Regions from separate parts of the Homo sapiens genome. Here regions 1 and 3 are each linked to region 2. The links are contacts of gene promoters, found by promoter capture Hi-C in blood cells and fetal thymus (Javierre and others, 2016). All regions are on one chromosome and are shown on one strand. Each heading gives the region's core, a stretch centred on a gene start or on the middle of the fragment in contact. The rest is flanking DNA. Distances are from core to core; before and after follow the strand shown. Region 1 overlaps MEIS1 (Meis homeobox 1). Region 2 holds the start of MEIS1-AS2 (MEIS1 antisense RNA 2). Region 3 overlaps MEIS1 (Meis homeobox 1).

Region 1 (2,966 bases), core at 387-2,886, 110 kb before region 2:
AAAATGTATTATTAAATTATGTTGGAAGAAAAAGCAGAACAATTCTATGAAACCCTATGACCCCTATTGATTTTTAGATCACAGAAGTTGAAAGGATAATTTGTGAATGTTTTAACATTTACATCTAAACAGGTACCTATATTTATAGAATCTTTGATTATTTGTAAAAGTATTTGCTATATTATTACCATAACTCAGAAAGAAACTTGACCTTTAACAGCTGAATCTGTTTATTATAATAAAGGAGATCTTATTTTTAAAAAATAAGTTTACATTTTTACTTGCCAGTGGCATAAATCTCCAAGGATAACATACTTTTTTCCCACTCATAATAAATGGGAAGTGATGCCTGAATGCTTTGCAGCTTTGAAAGCAATAAATGAAATAACTAGGAAAATCTGGTATGAGCACTAAATCTAAGAAATGTAGAGTACCATAGTTCTGAACAGTGTCATCTTGGCTGCTAGGATGGAACCTGGAATTTTATATGCTCTCTTGATGGAGAATAATTTTTCTCTATATATAAATACTGTATTTCACATACACTATATATTTTGCACCTAAAACCCATATTGCCTTCTCAGAGCATAAAGGGATAATCATTTAATATCAGAACTTAATAGGAAAGTGTTTGGATGAGGAGTAGTAAACAAAGAAACTGTAAAATGTATTCAGTACACCCTAGGCCAAAACTCTGCTGAGGCAGGAGGCAACTGAGGCATCCAGTAAGTACGACACAAGTACAAGAGATAAGTTTTCATCACAGGGAATTCCCAGGTCCGCAACACTGGTGTGATCATGTATAAGGGAATTTTTATCTGACCATTCTACACTCACATTTTCAATATAAAAAAATTAAGTTGGTCTATTCAGGAGAAAAAACAACCAAGTATTGATTGTGTGTGTGTGTGTGTGTGTGTGTGTGTCTTCCATAAAGTTCTACTTAAATACTTAAAGGTCTAAACAACCATCTAATCTCAAAATTTAAGATGTTTCTACTTAAATTACTAAAACATTTGCATATTGGTAATGTTTGCACTGCTGATATAACATAAGTATTTGTTAAAACCACAACAACAGTAAAAAAGCAAAGAGACAAAAGCCCCTGATGCTATTATTTATCATTTTTGGATAAAATTATAATTGGGAGCAAGGGACCAAAGAAGGAAGAATACATAAATCTCTGGTGCATATTATGTTTCGAAAATGATTACACTTTTAAATCTAAGTCAACCACAACATACTAGATTGAAATATTTAGACAACTAGTTATGGAGGTTGATTTTTTAAAAATATGCAGTCACATCAAATACTTAGATAATTTATTTAAAAATATTTTACTCAAATTATTTACATAATTGCCTCAATTCTCAAAAAATTTATTGGCATAGACTTGGCCCACAATGTCACATCTAATAAATTTCACATTCCATCCTAGGGCCCACATGCTGTAAGTACTGATGCCAACCATTTTAAGATTCTTTCTCTCCATTTTTATTCTGACAATTGGACCAAAATAAGAGTTATAACGAGATTTTCTTTTTTCCAGATTTTCTCTTAATTAATCAAATCAGTCTTATTGTTTTACTTTTAAGTTCTCTCCTCTTTTGCCTTTCTCCCCTCAAATCCCATGTACTTTAGCCTTAGCCACCTGAGGCAGGTAGTATATATCACTGTCAATTCGAGAAATGTAAAATTAGTTCAGTGATGAAGTGAAAGAACCATTAAAATGTAGCAAACTTCTTGTCTATTTTTCAGTCAAAGCCTAACTTAAAACTGCATCAGCCAGGATTTCTATGACACTCTAACAACTAGACATGAGTTTATATTTTTCACTTACATATTATATATTTTGATACATTATGTTACTGCTAATAATTATGACTGATCTACACTCAACCTGTCCTTCAGCATTTTATTGAATTGCATTTCAACAGTGACTCATAGTTCATACAAAAATGTACATGTGTATTAACAAGTTTTAAGAAATCCAAGAAGGAAGACACAGATGTTTAAAAGTTGTGGATAAATAAATGAAAGGGAAACACAGAAATACTAATGATGACATTTTCAAAATTATTATTTTTAGTAGAAAATAACTTGTACCGATGCTCAGTATAGCTAAGATGAAAAACATTTTTTATAAAAAATGTTTATAAGTGGGTGCAGTAGCTCACGCCTGTAATCCCAGCACTTTGGGAGGCTGAAGTGGGTGGATCTCTTGAGCCCTGGAGTTAGAGACCAGCCTGGGCAACATAGCAAAACCCCTGCCTCAACAAAAGAAAAAAAAATTAACTGGGCATGGTGGCATATGCCTGTATTCCCAACTACTGGGGAGGCTGAGTCAGGAGGATTACTTGAGCTAGGAGTTGGAGGTTGCAGTGAGCCATGTTCACACCACTGCACTCCAGCCCGGACAACAGAGCAGGACTCGGTATCAAAACAAAACAAAACAAAACAAAACAAAACAAAACAAAACAAAACAAAACAGGAAGAGGTTTCTATAAAAATTAATAAACCATTAAAAATTCAAATCAAACATGGTATTGTCATTATTTGTCAAACTAAAGAAAAACAATCTCTCTTACAACTTTTAGTTACTTGAGGGACATTTTCTACAGCAAACAACATTGTTAAATGTTGAAACAATTGCCAAATGCAAAGCACTGTGGTGCAAGCAAAAGCCACTTCTAACTCCATATATATACAAGTAGAGAGAAACCACACACTGCACAAAGTGGCAGTTAAGCACAGAATTGTGTTTCTGTCCCAAATAACTAATTAAAAGCTATTTTTAAGTTATTTACCCGTGCAGAATTGAATAGCAGTGTGAAGTTTAGGGTAAAGTCTGCATATACTTTAAAATTATTTTAGAGTGTGAATTAAAACTTTTTAAACATCCTTTCTCTCCCTTCTGGTTACAAAACTGAGAAAGTCGAATTGTGATCATGGACTGATTAGGAAGA
Region 2 (2,911 bases), core at 62-2,561:
TTGTAATTAAACTGCGAAGAGAAATGGACGCTAAGATTGGCCTTGACACTAATTACCAGAAAGAAAGACATTTATGCAAATGTATCAGAAGGCTGAACTTCAGCCATTCGGAACCCTCCCCCCTGTGTGTTTGGGGGTAAGGGGTAAGTAAAAGGAAAAGAGGCTAGAGAAATTACCTTCTCTAATTCCAATAGATGAAACCTTAATACTTGTATGGCTTGAATCATCTGCAAAGATACAAAAACAATAAGCACCCCATTCCTGGCTTGCAGAAAACTGGCTGCCACAGCTCTACCATCTCCAGCCCACCCCCTCCCACCAGTAAATAGAGTTATTTTGATTTATGGCAATAACACTAAAACTTAATAGCAGCAACTGGGTACCATCTAGAGGTTTATATTTCTTAAGAAAAAAAAAACTAGCTAAAACAACAACACAGCATCTAAGTGAGGATCATAAACACTCTCCTCCCCCATGGCTCTCCCCTTTCTCAGTCCCACTGGCCCCACCCCACCCCAAAAGGGCCACAACACTGGACTACATGTGTCCTTGGAAGGAGTGGACAGAAAAATATTCCAAATGGCCCTCAAACTGTGGCTTTTCCCATTGCAAAGTTTCTGCTGCCTTCCTTACACCTTTCAGGCAAACTGGTTGTTTGGGGGCTCTTGTCCGGTGGCTGCCCTCGTGATGGGACTTAGAGGGCTAGGAAGTCCGCAAAGTTTAAGCACACATGCTGACAGGCCGGGAGATAAATCCCCGCGCTGATTAGAGCTGCGCAGCCCGGCTGTCATAAAAAACAAAAGCTCGCGTTTCCCCGCGCTGGCTCGCCCGGCCCCTCTCGAGATGAATTTATTTCCCCGGGATCTTGTCCCGGACCAGTTGTCCGTGTACAGAAACATTTGCAGCCAACCTGCAGGCACGGGAAGACCGGTCTAGAAATCTCAGGGCTCTCAAAGCAAAGCTGAGGGCGTTGGAGGTGGGAGGTAGGGGGTCGGGGGCGGGGGAGGGAAATAGGGGTCCGCTCTTACCAAGTTATCCAGTTCTGGATTAGAAGAAAATAGAGGTTTTTCTGCGCGAATCTAAATACAAGTGAGAAGGAGAGGGGAGAGGGAGGGGAGAGAAAAAAGAAAGAAAAATTTGAAATCTGGTCGCCTTCCTAGTTTCTTGCCTCATTACACTGTCGGGGGCAGGAAGTAACCCTCCGGGAGGGACCCGGTGACACCGAGTTCGTCCCGCGCAGAAACATTTCAGTGTGAATTAAATAAGCTGAAAACAAGCCCAGAGCTCAATCTTACTTCTACTAGCAACTACGGCTCTCGGGGAGGCTGCTCAGACCGCCGAGTCCACAGCAGCTACAACCGTGGTGTTCTTGATTTTATTCTGCAGAGTGAGCTCTCCACGTTTGCTTTCTGGAGGGTGAGTGGGGATGCAGATGGGTGATTTTAAGTTATCTGCAAACAGACACTCAGACAGAGAGAAAATCTGAGGTTGGAGGTAACATGCATGGCTTAAGGCCGACTACGTGCTGGCTACTTTTGAAAGTGTGCCGTGTGTGTGTGTGTGTGTGTGTGTTCGCGCGCGCGCGCGCGCGTGTGTGTTGGCGAAGGGGGGGCTCTCTTTTTGTTTCTTTTACTTTTTAACATCTATTTTGCTGACCTGTTTGGCGAACACGGCTATATCTTCATTGAATGACTCTGACGAGCAGACGTCCCCGCCCGCCACCCCCGGCTCGCGGGGGGTACAAGTAGCTAATTCACATTTCTCAAAAATCAGTGCTAAGAGAGGGAAGAGGGGGTGTCTGCAAGAAAATACAACAGTCACAAACAACATAATGGTTAGTCCCCAGTCAATGGAAAAAGGTGCCCAAGAAAAACAGCTGGAGGAGCAAGAGGAACAGACCCCCTCTCCGATTGTGTCATCTACTTTTTTCCTTTTCCTCCCCCTCCCCCAGACCCAGGTGACCGCTCACCTCCCCTTCCTCCTGGAGCCCTGAAGTCGGAGGCCCTGAGCCATGGACGGTATCTGAGGATCGGTTTAGCGTATCTGGCCGGAGAAATTGGCAACATTTGCTACGAATAAAACCCAAGCGTTTCCAGCAGCCATTTTGAATTAAGTTTCCCACCCGACAAGCCCTCGTCCCCTCCACTGCACATCCAGGATCCGGTGGAGGAGAAAGGCGCCGGGCGGAGAGTTGGGGAGGGCTGGTTCCTGCGGGTTCCTCCTAGGCGGCCGCGCGAAGCCCAGGCTCGGGGGATCTCGGTGGCAGGCGCTCAGCTAACTTGGGGAAAGGACGTCCATGGCCGTGGGGCCGACTGTCAACGGGCTGCACCTAGGGATCCCAACCCCAAGGCCCTCGGAGAGCCGGGAGGCTCCTCCTCAGCTCCACGCACATTCCCCTCCCTTCGCTGATAGCCCCCACCGCCCCCCAAAGAAAGTTCCTTCAAATGTTCCTGCAGTAGAGCCTTTCATTTTGTCTCTGCGAAGTGGCAAAGCAGCTAGTATTGCGAGGGGCCTAGATGTCGCTTGTCTCAGCCCATAAAAAAGAAAAAAAAAAAAAAAAGAAGAAGAAGAAGAAAGAAAGAAAAGCTTCTTCTAATGCCCAAGGAGGTATCTCAAGTCTTTTATTAGCTCTCACAGCTCAGCTGGGAATTTAACAGTTTGGGGTCCTTTACAAAGCTTCCCCAAATGTTCTGTCCCAGAGCCTAAACCACTTGTAGTTAACTCTGCGGACAGAACGGTGGGAATTAAACAAGCCCATCGCACAAGGGATCAGAAAATAAAATAAAAAGATTATATATATTTTTTTTTCCAGCGAGGGAGGGTCAGTGTGTCCTGATTTTTTAAAAATAAATAAATAGAAATAAAAGTTTCTGCAAAGTAAAAAGAGGTTCCCAAATTCATCGGCACACAG
Region 3 (3,214 bases), core at 117-2,616, 84 kb before region 2:
GGGGTAAGCTTCAAAATCAGGGGGGCAAAATCAAAGTATAAAAATCAAAGAGAAAAACAATCATCTTTCCATTTAAAATCTGTCATCTTGCTTGTGTACCTTAGATCCTTTCTATGCAAGCTGCAGTCTGTGGACCAGCAGCACCAGCAGCAATAGGAGCTTGCTGAAAATGCAGAATCTCAGGCCCCAACCCTCTCAATCAGAATCTACATTTTTAAAAAGATCCAGATAATTTAAATGCATGCCATAGCTTAAAGAGCACTGTTTTTGTTTGTTTGTTTGTTGTTTTTTGTTTGTTTGTTTTTGAGACAAGGTCTCACTCTGCCGCCCAGGATGGAGTGCAGTGGAGTGATCTTGGCTCACTGCAACCTCCACCACCTGGGCTCAAGCGATTTTCCTGCCTTAGCCTCTTGAGTAGCTGGGACTACAAGCGTGCCCCGCCACACCAGGCTAAGTTTTGTATTTTTGTAGAGACAGGGTTTCACCATGTTGCCCATTGAATTCCTGGTCTTGAATTCCTGGGCTCAAGCAATCTGCCTGTCCTGGTCTCCCAAAGTGCTAGGATTACAGGCATGAACCACTGTGCTCAGCCAAGGAGCACTGTTTTTAAAGAAGCAAAAGAATTTTCAATTCTGTAGTAATTTTCATTTTCTAGTTTTTCAGGTGATAGACTTTCACTTTTTTAAAGTTACTTGTTATACCTCAGTTAAAACTCCAGATGTGTTCATTGTTAAATCACATGATAAATTTGACAAGTTCGGAGAAATGTTGTAAATATTTTCATGAAATATTTGTGTAAAATACTTGTGTGAAAAAAAATTTAAAGGCTTCTATTTAGAACCTAAATAATCACTGTACTTCTTTTCATCATACCAACTTAGCAATGTTTCCAATGATATGACTTATCACAATATCACCTTTTTTTTTAATTTTTTAAATTTTATTTATTTATTCATTTTGAGACAGGGTCCCACTCTGTCGCCCAGGCTGGAGTGCAGTGGTGCAATCTTGGCTCACTGCAGCCTAACACACCTGGGCTCAAGTGATCCTCCCACCTCCTCCCAAGTAGCTGGGACTACAGGCATTAGCCACCACACCTGGCTAATTTTTTAACTTTTTGTAGAGATGGGGTTTCATCATATTGTCCAGGCTGGTCTTGAACTCCGGGGCTTAAGCAGTCTTCCTTCCTCAGCCTCCCAAAGTGCTGGGACTACAGGCAACAGCCACTGCTCCTAGCCACAATATTACCTTTACATACTGATTTTCAAAACCCAGAGTCAGGCTGGACCATGCCTGCTTTGTCATGAGCAAGGAAGGTAGTTGAGCAATTATTGTCTAAGTTCAGACAGCACAAGAAGGTAAACAGGACACTTCAAGCCAGCAAAACTCTTTTTCTCTCCAACAAAAGGCACCTTCTCCTCCAATGACCAGGATAATAACTTTAACCTCATTTTATTTCGATCATAAGAGCAAATTTTGGTCTCTGACATGCAAGTACATTTGGCCTTGCTTCTCTCCTTGCCTTCCTATCTCTGGTAGTCAACAAATCAACATTTTGACTGTATTTAAATTATTTATCATGAAATTGGTAATGAATTTTTAGAAATAGGAACAACGAGTGGAAAACTTAACATTCTGAGGGGCTACCAAATAAGGTCTGCCTTCTCATTTTCAGAGGCTAACACCTACCACTTAGGACATCAGAATAGCTCCACAATTCCACACGCTATGACAGTCAACCTACGTGACATGTTACCCATGTTAGTTCAAATGTAAAATACAGCATTTGTAGCCCTGGAGATTAACTGAATTATAATGCCACATTTGAATGCTACTTTACAGATTTTTTCCAAAGGCTCTGAGCATCTACTCCTTAATTAAATTTAATTTGGTTTCCACATAGAGTGCTGTTGAGCATATTCACTTCAACATACACGTCAGCTCAAAATACATCATCTTCACCTTCCAACTACAGCGTTATGAAGATGTTTCCTTGTGGGAACATTCAAAACTGATTTATGGTGCTATTGCAACAACTAAGCAACTAATCTTCCAGTATAAATGTAACACATAAGAACAACCTAACTGAAACATATAAATTCCACATATACTTAAAAATATTATTGTCTGTAATTTAATATAGGAGAATGTTTCTAAGCCTACAACCTTGCATGCAGAAGCAGTTTTTCAAGCATTAATACTTAAATGGGTCATAGACACCACATCTGTCATTCTGTCCTGAAGTCTATGAGGCAAAACCAAGACTATGCTGGCCTATTGATTTTTCTAGCATTTGCTTTAATTTACTTAACCATTGAGAAATCCATCAGTACATAAACGGCAACTGTCCATTACTGCCTCATTTGCAGACATTCTTTCCCCTCGTTTTTGGTAAATATTTCCCTTAAATTGCTATGTGTTTACAGTGTAAAAACGAATTAGGAAACTGCTCACACCTGTTTCTGTTCAGTAACTGCTGCACTGAGGTATATGTAACATGCTTAAAGATAGAATAAATATCTAGACATTATTACATCTGTGTGCAAAGGGTGGTAAATTAGATCCTAATTACATTAACAGGGATTCTGCCTCCCAGCTTAAATTTTACATGAGCACTCTGCAAAAATCCAAAAGCTCTGCTGTGGTTTCTTTATGAGCTGGTGATTACAGCTACTTCCTATGCGGTCACTAAATATTCTGTTTACAAATAAATGAAGAAGCTTTGAGCCGACTTGCCAGAGTAATAATCTATTTTTTTCTCCCCCTCCCTCTTCCCAACAAACCCTCGCCACATATGCATGGCAACAGTCAGAAGCCCTGGCTTCATCTAATTACTCCATCACATAATTTCACAAATTGCCTTTTCACTGGGGAGCCAAGTGCAAAACATGCTCACAGTGGGATTTCAGGCAGCAGCTTTCATTTACTACTCATTCCTTGTTCAATTAAACACGAAAACACCAGTTGTGTGAAAGAAGTCAAAAAGAATGCCTGCCAATGAGCCAGACACGTATATCTCCTATTTACCATTTCATCAAATACATTGTTGGCAACAGGCATCTCCAACAGGAGGATCCCCTCGCCTGGCCCACTGTTGTCTCAATGGAGCTGCCACAATAGAACCATAACCAAATGGCTAAGAGCAAAGGGGCTTATCTAAAAAGTAAACTTCCTCATCTATCAATAGGAAACATGGGCACGTAGTAACAGATTT

The links. Contacts are between HindIII fragments. The CHiCAGO score rates a contact against its expected background, and 5 or more counts as called.
Region 1: a contact is called between a fragment that was not itself captured here and the fragment with the promoter of MEIS1-AS2 in region 2, in 1 of 17 cell types (megakaryocytes). The highest score is 5.4, in megakaryocytes.
Region 3: a fragment that was not itself captured here is called in contact with the fragment with the promoter of MEIS1-AS2 in region 2 in 1 of 17 cell types (megakaryocytes); the score reaches 6.6 in megakaryocytes.

What each region holds. Positions count from the first base shown.
Region 1 is chr2:66,549,989-66,552,954 of GRCh38, reverse strand. All of the region lies in intron 9 of MEIS1 (Meis homeobox 1), which reads right to left. It overlaps LOC124900511 (a long non-coding RNA gene), which reads right to left. Exons shown (of 2, transcript XR_007086610.1): 1 at 1-2,966. Among named protein-coding and RNA genes, the nearest start is that of LINC01798, 23 kb to the left of the region's middle. The HindIII fragment of the contact is 8,417 bases long and covers 1-2,966 here.
Region 2 is chr2:66,438,730-66,441,640 of GRCh38, reverse strand. It overlaps MEIS1-AS2 (MEIS1 antisense RNA 2), which reads left to right and starts at 1,311. Exons shown (of 2, transcript NR_046625.1): 1 at 1,311-1,416; 2 at 1,952-2,554. MEIS1 (Meis homeobox 1) reads right to left here. Exons shown (of 13, transcript NM_002398.3): 3 at 1,657-1,798; 4 at 1,029-1,079; 5 at 177-227. RefSeq lists an enhancer at 1,001-2,200. The HindIII fragment of the contact is 4,208 bases long and covers 1-2,588 here.
Region 3 is chr2:66,522,304-66,525,517 of GRCh38, reverse strand. All of the region lies in intron 8 of MEIS1 (Meis homeobox 1), which reads right to left. Among named protein-coding and RNA genes, the nearest start is that of LINC01798, 50 kb to the left of the region's middle. RefSeq lists an enhancer at 1,609-3,214. The HindIII fragment of the contact is 2,712 bases long and covers 11-2,722 here.